Regions from separate parts of the Homo sapiens genome. Here region 2 is linked to region 1. The links are contacts of gene promoters, found by promoter capture Hi-C in blood cells and fetal thymus (Javierre and others, 2016). All regions are on one chromosome and are shown on one strand. The core of a region is centred on a gene start or on the middle of the fragment in contact, and the rest is flanking DNA. Distances in the headings are between cores, read along the strand shown.

Evidence for each region. Contacts are between HindIII fragments. The CHiCAGO score rates a contact against its expected background, and 5 or more counts as called.
Region 2: a contact is called between a fragment that was not itself captured here and the fragment with the promoter of CCKAR in region 1, in 1 of 17 cell types (endothelial precursors). The highest score is 5.8, in endothelial precursors.

The regions. Positions count from the first base shown.
Region 1 is chr4:26,488,648-26,493,060 of GRCh38, reverse strand. It overlaps CCKAR (cholecystokinin A receptor), which reads left to right and starts at 2,577. Exons shown (of 5, transcript NM_000730.3): 1 at 2,577-2,905; 2 at 3,577-3,828. The coding sequence starts at 2,794. The HindIII fragment of the contact is 9,380 bases long and covers 1-4,413 here.
Region 2 is chr4:26,720,717-26,725,129 of GRCh38, reverse strand. All of the region lies in intron 15 of TBC1D19 (TBC1 domain family member 19), which reads right to left. Among named protein-coding and RNA genes, the nearest start is that of STIM2-AS1, 140 kb to the left of the region's middle. The HindIII fragment of the contact is 787 bases long and covers 1,437-2,223 here.

The DNA of each region.
Region 1 (4,413 bases), core at 1,328-3,827:
GGTGCATACCTGTAATTCCAGCTACTTGGGAGGCTGAGGCACGACAATTGCTTGCGATTGGGAGGTGGAGTTTGCAGTGACCCTAGCTCATGCCACTGCACTCCAGCCTGGGCAACAGAGCAAGACTTCGTCTCAGAAAAAAAAAAAAAAAGAAAGAAAGAAGAAAGAAGGAAGGAAGGAAGGAAGGATGGATGGAAGGAAGGAAGGAAAAGAAAGAAAGAAAGAAAGAGAGAAAGAAAGAAAGAAAGAGAAAAAGAAAGGAGGGATGGAGGGAAGAAAGGAAAGAAAGAGAGAGAGAAAGAAAGGAGGAAGGGAGGGAAGAAAGGAAAGGAAGGAAGGAAGGAAAAGAAAGAAAGAAAGAAAGAGAGAAAGAAAGAAAGAGAAAAAGAAAGGAGGGAGGGAGGGAAGAAAGGAAAGAAAGAGAGAGAGAAAGAAAGGAGGAAGGGAGGGAAGAAAGGAAAGGAAGGAAGGAAGGAAGGAAGGAAGGAAGGAAGGAAGGAAGGAAGGAAGGAAAAGAAAGAAAGAAAGAGAGAAAGAAAGAAAAAGAAAGGAGGGAGGGAGGGAAGAAAGGAAAGAAAGAGAGAGAGAAAGAAAGGAGGAAGGGAGGGAAGAAAGGAAAGGAAGGAAGGAAGGAAGGGAAAGAAAGAAAGAAAGAAAGAGAGAAAGAAAGAAAGAGAAAAAGAAAGGAGGGAGGGAGGGAAGAAAGGAAAGAAAGAGAGAGAGAAAGAAAGGAGGAAGGGAGGGAAGAAAGGAAAGGAAAGGAAGGAAGGAAGGAAGGAAGGAAGGAAGGAAGGAAGGAAGGAAGGAAGGAAGGAAGGAAACTAATTTGCCCAGTATTTCCTAGCAGGTAACCAGTGAAGCCAGGATTTGATCCCAAGTCTGTCTGATGCCAAAGCCTGTCCTCCCAATAACATCCACAGCTTCTCCAGTGTCCCTTCCCCTTCTTGTTTCTGTGACTAAATGCCCCAAACCATGTGGTCTTCATGGTTTCAAAGAAAAGAGGCACCACTGTCTTTCCAGCCCCACACTGACAGTAAAAATGCGTTAGTTCCTCTGTGTCTGGCAGAGACTCAGCAAGATGTAGCATGCAGCTCTGCCAGTGGAAGCATTGTCAGTACACAAGGAGCCCCACGGGTATCTAGCAAATGGACCAAGTCTCAGCACAGCCAAGCAGGGCGTCAGAAACGCAGGTTTCACAGCCATTGTCGTCTGCTTTCCAAAGGGTCTGAACTGAGGACATAATCTGTGCAATGGAGGTTGAAGGGCTTTCCAGCACCACAGAGCTTCATGGAACACCCAGGACCCTGAGATGGCCCCCCTCTCTGATCTCACGTCCTGCTGTTTGCCTCTCACTCACTCCTACTTCTATCTATTTGTACCTCAATGGGGCCACACTCATTCCCACCTCAGGGCCTTTGCACTTGCTGTTACCTCTGCTAAAAGTGCTCCTCCTTTTGCCTGGGAGAAGCTGTCTTGGGATCTTCACAAGACTTTGTCCTTCTTGTGGTTCAGTCTCAGATCACAGTCCCCTCCTTAAGAGACCTCTCCTGACTACCCCTTCTAAATCAGCAGCCCCAGGCCAGGTGCAGTGGCTCACGCCTGTAATGCCAACACTGGGAGGCCAAGGCAGGAGGATTGCTTGAGCTCAGGAGCTTGAGACCAGCCTGGGCAACATAGCGAGACCTCCTCTCTTCTAAAACTAAAAAAATCAGCTGGGCTTAGTGGTGTGTGCCTGTAGTCCCAGCTACTCAGGAGGCTAAGGTAGGAGGATTGCTTGAGCCAGGGAGCAAGGCTGCAGTGAGCCATGATCGCGCCACTCCACTGCAGCCTGGGGAACAGAGCAAGACCCTGTCCCCGCCCCCCAAAAAATCAGCCCCTAATCTGTTTGTATACATCACATCTCCCTGCTTTACTCCCTTTGTAGTACTTACTACCTGAAATAATTCTGCTCATTATTTGCTGACATGCTAGAAAAGTGCCTGGCAAATGATTGACTCTCAATGAAGATGTGCTGAATGCAAGGCTTCATGAATGAAGAGGAAATCTCACTAACGTCTTTTGTAATAAGGACCCAGGTACCTATGTTCAAAAGTGCCTCAATCCTAGTTAACAAGGGCAGAGACCACGAGAAACAACACTGTGTTTAGTAGCAACTTAACAACCAGCCAGCAGTTCTGTCCACACACACACCACCGGGCATGGTTCCAAAGCTAAAAAGGCACTAATTGCTTTTCTATAAGGAGGTAGAACACAGTCCCTCCGTGTTCTTTAGGCCTGATGGTCTGCATTATCGGATCTGTTACCGTGTTAATTGTTCCTGTCTCACACAGCCGGTTTGGGCTTTCTTCTGCATATGTCTGGGATGGTGACGGGTTCCTATATAGAGGAGTACTGGGGAAGCCTCTGTGTGTGTGTGTGTGTCCGTGCATATGTACACATGTGTGTAAAAAGCAGCCACACGCTGAGAATGGTTAACGGGTAGCCAGGCTGTCTGTACTCAGGGCCCTAAGACTGGCCCAGGAAAGGGCCGGGGGAGGTGGGGCGGGGTGAAGGTGGAGCGGGCTTGGCTTGTGCTCACTGCCTTTTCCACAACAGGAGTACAAATGCTGGAGTGAGTGAGGTGAACTCAAGTCGCCTTTAGGAATGGCTGAAAAAGCCCACACCTGGAAATCACTCCCTCCCTGCTCCTCCACGGCAGGTTGCATCTGCGAGACGCTTCGGTCATTAGAGGAATGAGCCGGGAGTGAGCAATTCACCAGCTCTCCAGCACTTGGTGGAAAGCAGCAGGCAAGGATGGATGTGGTTGACAGCCTTCTTGTGAATGGAAGCAACATCACTCCTCCCTGTGAACTCGGGCTCGAAAATGAGACGCTTTTCTGCTTGGATCAGCCCCGTCCTTCCAAAGGTAAGTGTCGGAAGCTGTTATTTTAATTCAGGAAACTATTGAGTTGTGGGAGAAATCAGCAAAGGCAAGGCTGATAAAAAATATATATAACCAAGTCATTGTGAGACAAGGCTAGATAAAGTCATATGTTCAGAAGTTTGGAGAAGAGATTAAAAAGCAGAATAGAGTCAAATATTCTTATTGTCCCCCATGGGGGAGTTGGGCATTCATGAATAGGACTTGGGGGAACAAAAGCAGGGGAGGAAAAGCTGAGTGAAGCAAGAGGGACTACAAGTGTCAAAGCCTGAACTTACAAGCACAGCAGAAAAGGTGTTGTCACCATGCAGCTGTTTTCTTTTCTTGGGGGGAAACCCAGCATGAAGTGATTAAAGTGAAATAATGCTTAGCAGCCAGGAAAGAAAGTGATCACTGTTCACTTGAGGAGCTTTGTTCTTAAGAAAAAGTGGTTCCCTGAGTGATCCTTTAACAAACCAACCTTCTAAAAAGAAAATAATTCAGTCTCTGCTTTCCTCAATTTGTTTCCGCAAAATGTTGCCAGGACAGGAATCGTGGGTCCAGTGATGTACACCCCGGTGGGGGGAAAATCGGCAGGAATTCACCCTTGGCTTCGGTTTTAGCATTCTGCTGTCATCACCTCCATCCCTCCGTCTTGCTCCTGTTTCTCTCTGCAGAGTGGCAGCCAGCGGTGCAGATTCTCTTGTACTCCTTGATATTCCTGCTCAGCGTGCTGGGAAACACGCTGGTCATCACCGTGCTGATTCGGAACAAGCGGATGCGGACGGTCACCAACATCTTCCTCCTCTCCCTGGCTGTCAGCGACCTCATGCTCTGTCTCTTCTGCATGCCGTTCAACCTCATCCCCAATCTGCTCAAGGATTTCATCTTCGGGAGCGCCGTTTGCAAGACCACCACCTACTTCATGGGTAAGTTGCTGCTGGTGACTCTTTCTGGAGCTTGCCCCAGACCCCACTCAGCCCCAGACCTTCCCAAACCTCTGACAATCACAGCAAAGGAGCCCTGCTGAGGGCTGAATCACAGAACATCAGGCTGTGCATGGCTGTGTGCACGGACATTGGTGCTGGCTTGACAGTCATCCTTATACGTTCCCCACAAGTCGGTCCCCATCATCCATGTTGGAGGTCAGTTTCTAAGAGTGAAATAAATTGATAGGAAAACACAGGGGCAGTTGATTTTGCTTGCTTCTATTTGAAGGGAAGAGGGACTTGCTTGCTTCTGTTTGAAGTCAGAAGTGACTTTAAGCTGCTCTATCCCTTTCTGGAAGCTGTTGACTGTGTCCTGATCTATACACAACTTGAGTCCTGGCTTCTAGGGAGGGTGAGGATGATGGAGGAGGGTTCTTTGCAGTTGTTTCTTTTGTTTTCTTAGGGAACAGGGGCTATTTGAAAACCAGTTCTATCGCAGTTTCAGATTCTCTTCTCAGGATTCACTTCCCAGCCTGTTCTCCCCAAAGCTGGGGCCATCTCTGGCAGAAAGAGAGAGAGAGAGAG
Region 2 (4,413 bases), core at 581-3,080, 230 kb before region 1:
TTCCTGATGCAGATTGCTGGTACCAGGGGGATCTTGTATCAAAATATTGTGGTTGTGTGTTTTGACCTATATAGTAGCTAACTGCGGGACTGGCTCAGGAGATTGCCTTCATTTTATTTGCCTCATCTCTGGGCTTTTTCAGGACTGACATGGCCTGCCAAGAGGCATTTGTCAAAAGCATTTAAAGGAAAATATATACTAGCTGCAGCCACCTAGGAGAAGGAATAAAAGATGGGAGTGGTGGTATACAGATTGAAAAGCCTGGGAAGAAAGAGGCTGGGGTAGGAGCTACTTGGGGCATGAGGGCTTTGGAAAGCATCTGTGTATACAGGGGAATCTAAAACTTACCCAAGAAGACCTTAGGCTCCCACTTCTGACTGCCTTTGAGGCTCTGTGCAAGCAGGAAGTGAAGGCTAACATACAGTTGTAAACAGCCTGGCTAAGCCTTGAAGGAGTGCCCCAATACCCAGCCAATCTGCAAAGACTGAAAGAGGGGTTTTTATTTTTGGTTCTAGATATTTAAGAAAATCTCTGTCAAATCACTAGCTGACTGTTACTCTACTAAAATAAAGACTTCAGTGAGCATATAAGATGAAAAATATCTTTATAAAAATATCTGTATAAAATATCTTTATAAAAATATTTAGAAAAGTCACTAAACAACACCTAGAACCCACAACAAGCAACAACAATGAATTCTTGGGGAGGGGGACAGAAAGACTCCCATTTCCAGTGATACCACAGTATAATATTCAAATTATTCCATTTTCAACAATAAAACAATTACTAGGCATGTGAAGAAATAAAAAAGTATAACCCATTCACAGGAAAAAAAATAATAAAAAATCCCTGAGGAAGCACAGACATTGGACTTACTAGACAAGACTTTAAGTCAACTATCTCCCTAACTGACCTAGCTCCATCTACCTTTTCTAACTCACCTTGTATCAGTCAATGCTTTGCTCACTATTGCCAGTCACACTGGCCATCTTGGTGAGCTTCAGACTATCAAGCTTATTCCTGCCTTCAGACATGCTGTGTACTCTCTTCTGGAACGTTCTCCCATTTCATTGCATAGCATACTCCATATAGTCTGTCTCTGTTCATATTCCACCTCCTCAGAGGCACCTTTCCTGACTACTTGATCTAAAATGGCTATGCCCATCCCAACTTCCTACAATTTCTGCTCCCTTTCATTGTTAAGTTCATCATTCTTTGAAATTACTTTCATTCATTCATCCTTTGTTGATTGACTGATGATTGACTGATTTTATGTTCCCCTTACTAGAAGGTAAGCTCCTTGGCAGCAGGTACTTTGTTTGTATCATTTACTGTGGATCACCCTCCTACAACAGTGACCTAGGCTAAATAAATATTTATCAAATGAATAAAGACAATTTATATGTGTTGAATAACAACAAAAAATATAAAAAGCTTATAAAATTCTTCTGAGAAGTCTCCCTTAGTTCAGAAATTTTGCTCACTAGCTGTTTGGGGAATCTACTAGAGGAAATCTGTCCATTGGTGATTCTTCAAATGAAGTGAGAGAACAAAATGTCTGATGCCACCATAGCCTGTCATTTCCCTCCCAGGGAAGGTAATCACAGGCATGTTGGGGGTAGTGGTGAGAAAACCTCTGCCACCCTGTAAGCACTGGCCTGGTCAGGGAATGAGAGTGTGTCAGTGAGCTGCAGGCTAACCTCTATGTGTGGTCCCCTGAGACCAAGAAAGCCACAACAGTTTTGGTGGTAGTAGTGACAGAGGTGTCAAGATTTCAAAGTAATAATATCTTTGGCAGAGGTTCAAAACAGGGTGGGTAATATAAAAATGCTGCTAAGTATTGCCTTGAGTTAAAAAAAAAAGCGGGGGAGAGTAGATTGACTGGTCTTTGTCTCTTCTTGTTCTGAAACTTCAGAATCATTGCCCAGAGAAAAGTGTCCTCCTTGATTCTGGCAAGTTCTAAAACAACCTGAGAGGAGAAATGATTCTGTAGAACTAAATTTATGAACAGCTGTGGGCTTATCTCATTAAGGATTAAACAGTTTTCATTCTGGATGAAAATCTTTCTAGAACCTATCACATACATCCTCTACCTTTTTATTACATTAACTACTTTCCTTTCTTCCCAAATTCACTATAATGAGCTCAGCAACATCTTCTGAGGCAGTAGGGCATCCTGATAAGAATGTTGCTTCTGAAGCCAGACAGCTTGGATTCAAAGCTTGGCTTTGTCACTCACCTGTTGGGCAGGTTAACACTCTATGCCTCAGTTTCTTTATCTGTAAATAGGGATAATATTAGTACCTTCCTCATAGGTTCTTGTAAGGACTAAATGAATTAATATATGTCATATACTTAACACATTGCCTGGGATATAGTACTGCTTGGAAAATGTTTGCTGCTGCTGCTATAACTATACTGTTACAATTATTACTATAGCGAGATTTTTTTTGGTGTCTTGAGCTCATTATAAAGATGCTAAATTATAATATGCTGCAACTTAGTGATACCTTCTTAAAGGGCACAGTGTTACTAGCTTTTACATAAAATGGCCCCAGACTGATTTGCTGGAGTGGTCTAATACGCTGTTTTATAGCTCCTGTATTTTCCTTTGTGAAGTCTCCTTTTTACTTCTCACTGTTGTTGCTATTTTTTCATATCTATATCAGCCTTTTCCATGCTTCTATTTTTGTAGGAGGCATAAAAAAGAGTTAACCAATTTGTTAGACATGTGTGTTAAGTAAAAGCTAATATATTCTAAACTAAGTTGAAAAAACACTTCTATGGATGGAGAGAAGAACTTGAGTCCATGGACAACTCTTTTGGCTATTCAGAGGTATTTTGTTATTGTTTCTTGCTTCTTAGATAAAATATAAAAAGTTACTATAAAAGTAAGTTTCTGGGATAATAGATGTAACAATGGTAATATATAAAGTTAAAATTAACAAACCTCTAATTGAGTTCAAATAAATACTCATTACAGTCCTATTACATGCTAGATACTGAGGCAACAAAAATGAATGATATGGCTCTGAACTACAAGAAGCTTGCAATTAAGAGGAGGAGATAAAGTATAAACAAACAATATCAAGATAACATAGCTAGAGATACCAAAGAGTTTAGACCAGGTACTATGGGAGTCTAGAGGAAGGGCCCTTAGCCTAACCTGGGGATTCAGGGAAAGCTTCCTGAAAGAGGATCATGCCTAAACTGAGCTTGATGACAGCCAGGTGAAGAAAGGTTAGATGGGCTATTCTAAGCATGGAAACATGAGAAGTGATGAGACAGGAAGCAGCATAGTGCTTTCGTGAGAGTATGTAGCTGTGGGTATAAATAATAAATAGTTTGATATTGCTATAATTAAAAATGAGATGGGAAATAGTGGAAAATGAAGCTAGGAGGTAGACTATAGGGATCAGACTCAAGAGGTCCTCATATGTCATGCTGAGAAGCTTGAATATCACTTGTTAAGAGATGGGAAGCCATTAAGAACACTTTGAGAAAAATGGCAATTTGCAGATTTTCACTTTAGATGTATAACTCAAATGAGCAGTGTAAAAGACAGCAAAACTAGAAAAGACTGTGGGAAGAGGGACCAGTTAGATGGTTGTTGCAATTAACAAGCTAGAGATAGTAAGAACTGAAAGGAGACAAGGCAGCGGGGATGGTGTGGAAGAGAGGGTTCCAGACGTATTTGGAAGATAAAATTGGAAGGTCCTCGCGACTTATTAGATGAGTTGGGGACAAGGTGGAGAGAAATCTAGGATGGCCTTGAGTTACTAGGAAGATGACAATTCAATTAACTGAGAGAGAAATAGGTGGGTTTTTGTTTTTTGTTTTTTAATTTAGTTTCTTCTTTTTTCTTTTGGGGGTGGGCATAAGAAGATAAAACAGTGAGTTCAGGCTGGGACATATTAAGCTTTAGGTAGTTATGGGAGAGGTACGAACTGGATATATTTTAGAGTAATTAACAATAGATAGAATCATAAAAGCAAATGGCAGCCCCTAGATAAAAGTAAGAAAAGAGAAGAGCAGCAGAACAAGAGTGAGATATTAAAAGAGGGACAGAGGTAGATGGCCCATGAAACTGAGATTCCATATTGAGAGACACAGGGAGAGAACAGCGCCATGAAAGCCAAAGCCACGTATGAGTTTTAGATATAGTGATCAGTAAAGTTAAACACACTCATAACAGCTACATCTTCTGAGCACTCACTACATGTCAGGCACTTTGTGGTTTTATATACCATATCTCATGTAATCTATTATCCACATGGTACAGATGATGAACCTGAAGTTCAGAGAAGTCATGTAACTTACTTAAGGTCATAGGATAAGCTGGAAGAATTGGGATCTGAACCCAAGTCTGCTGGATTACAAAACCCATGTTCTTAACTCTGCTGGAGTAAAAGA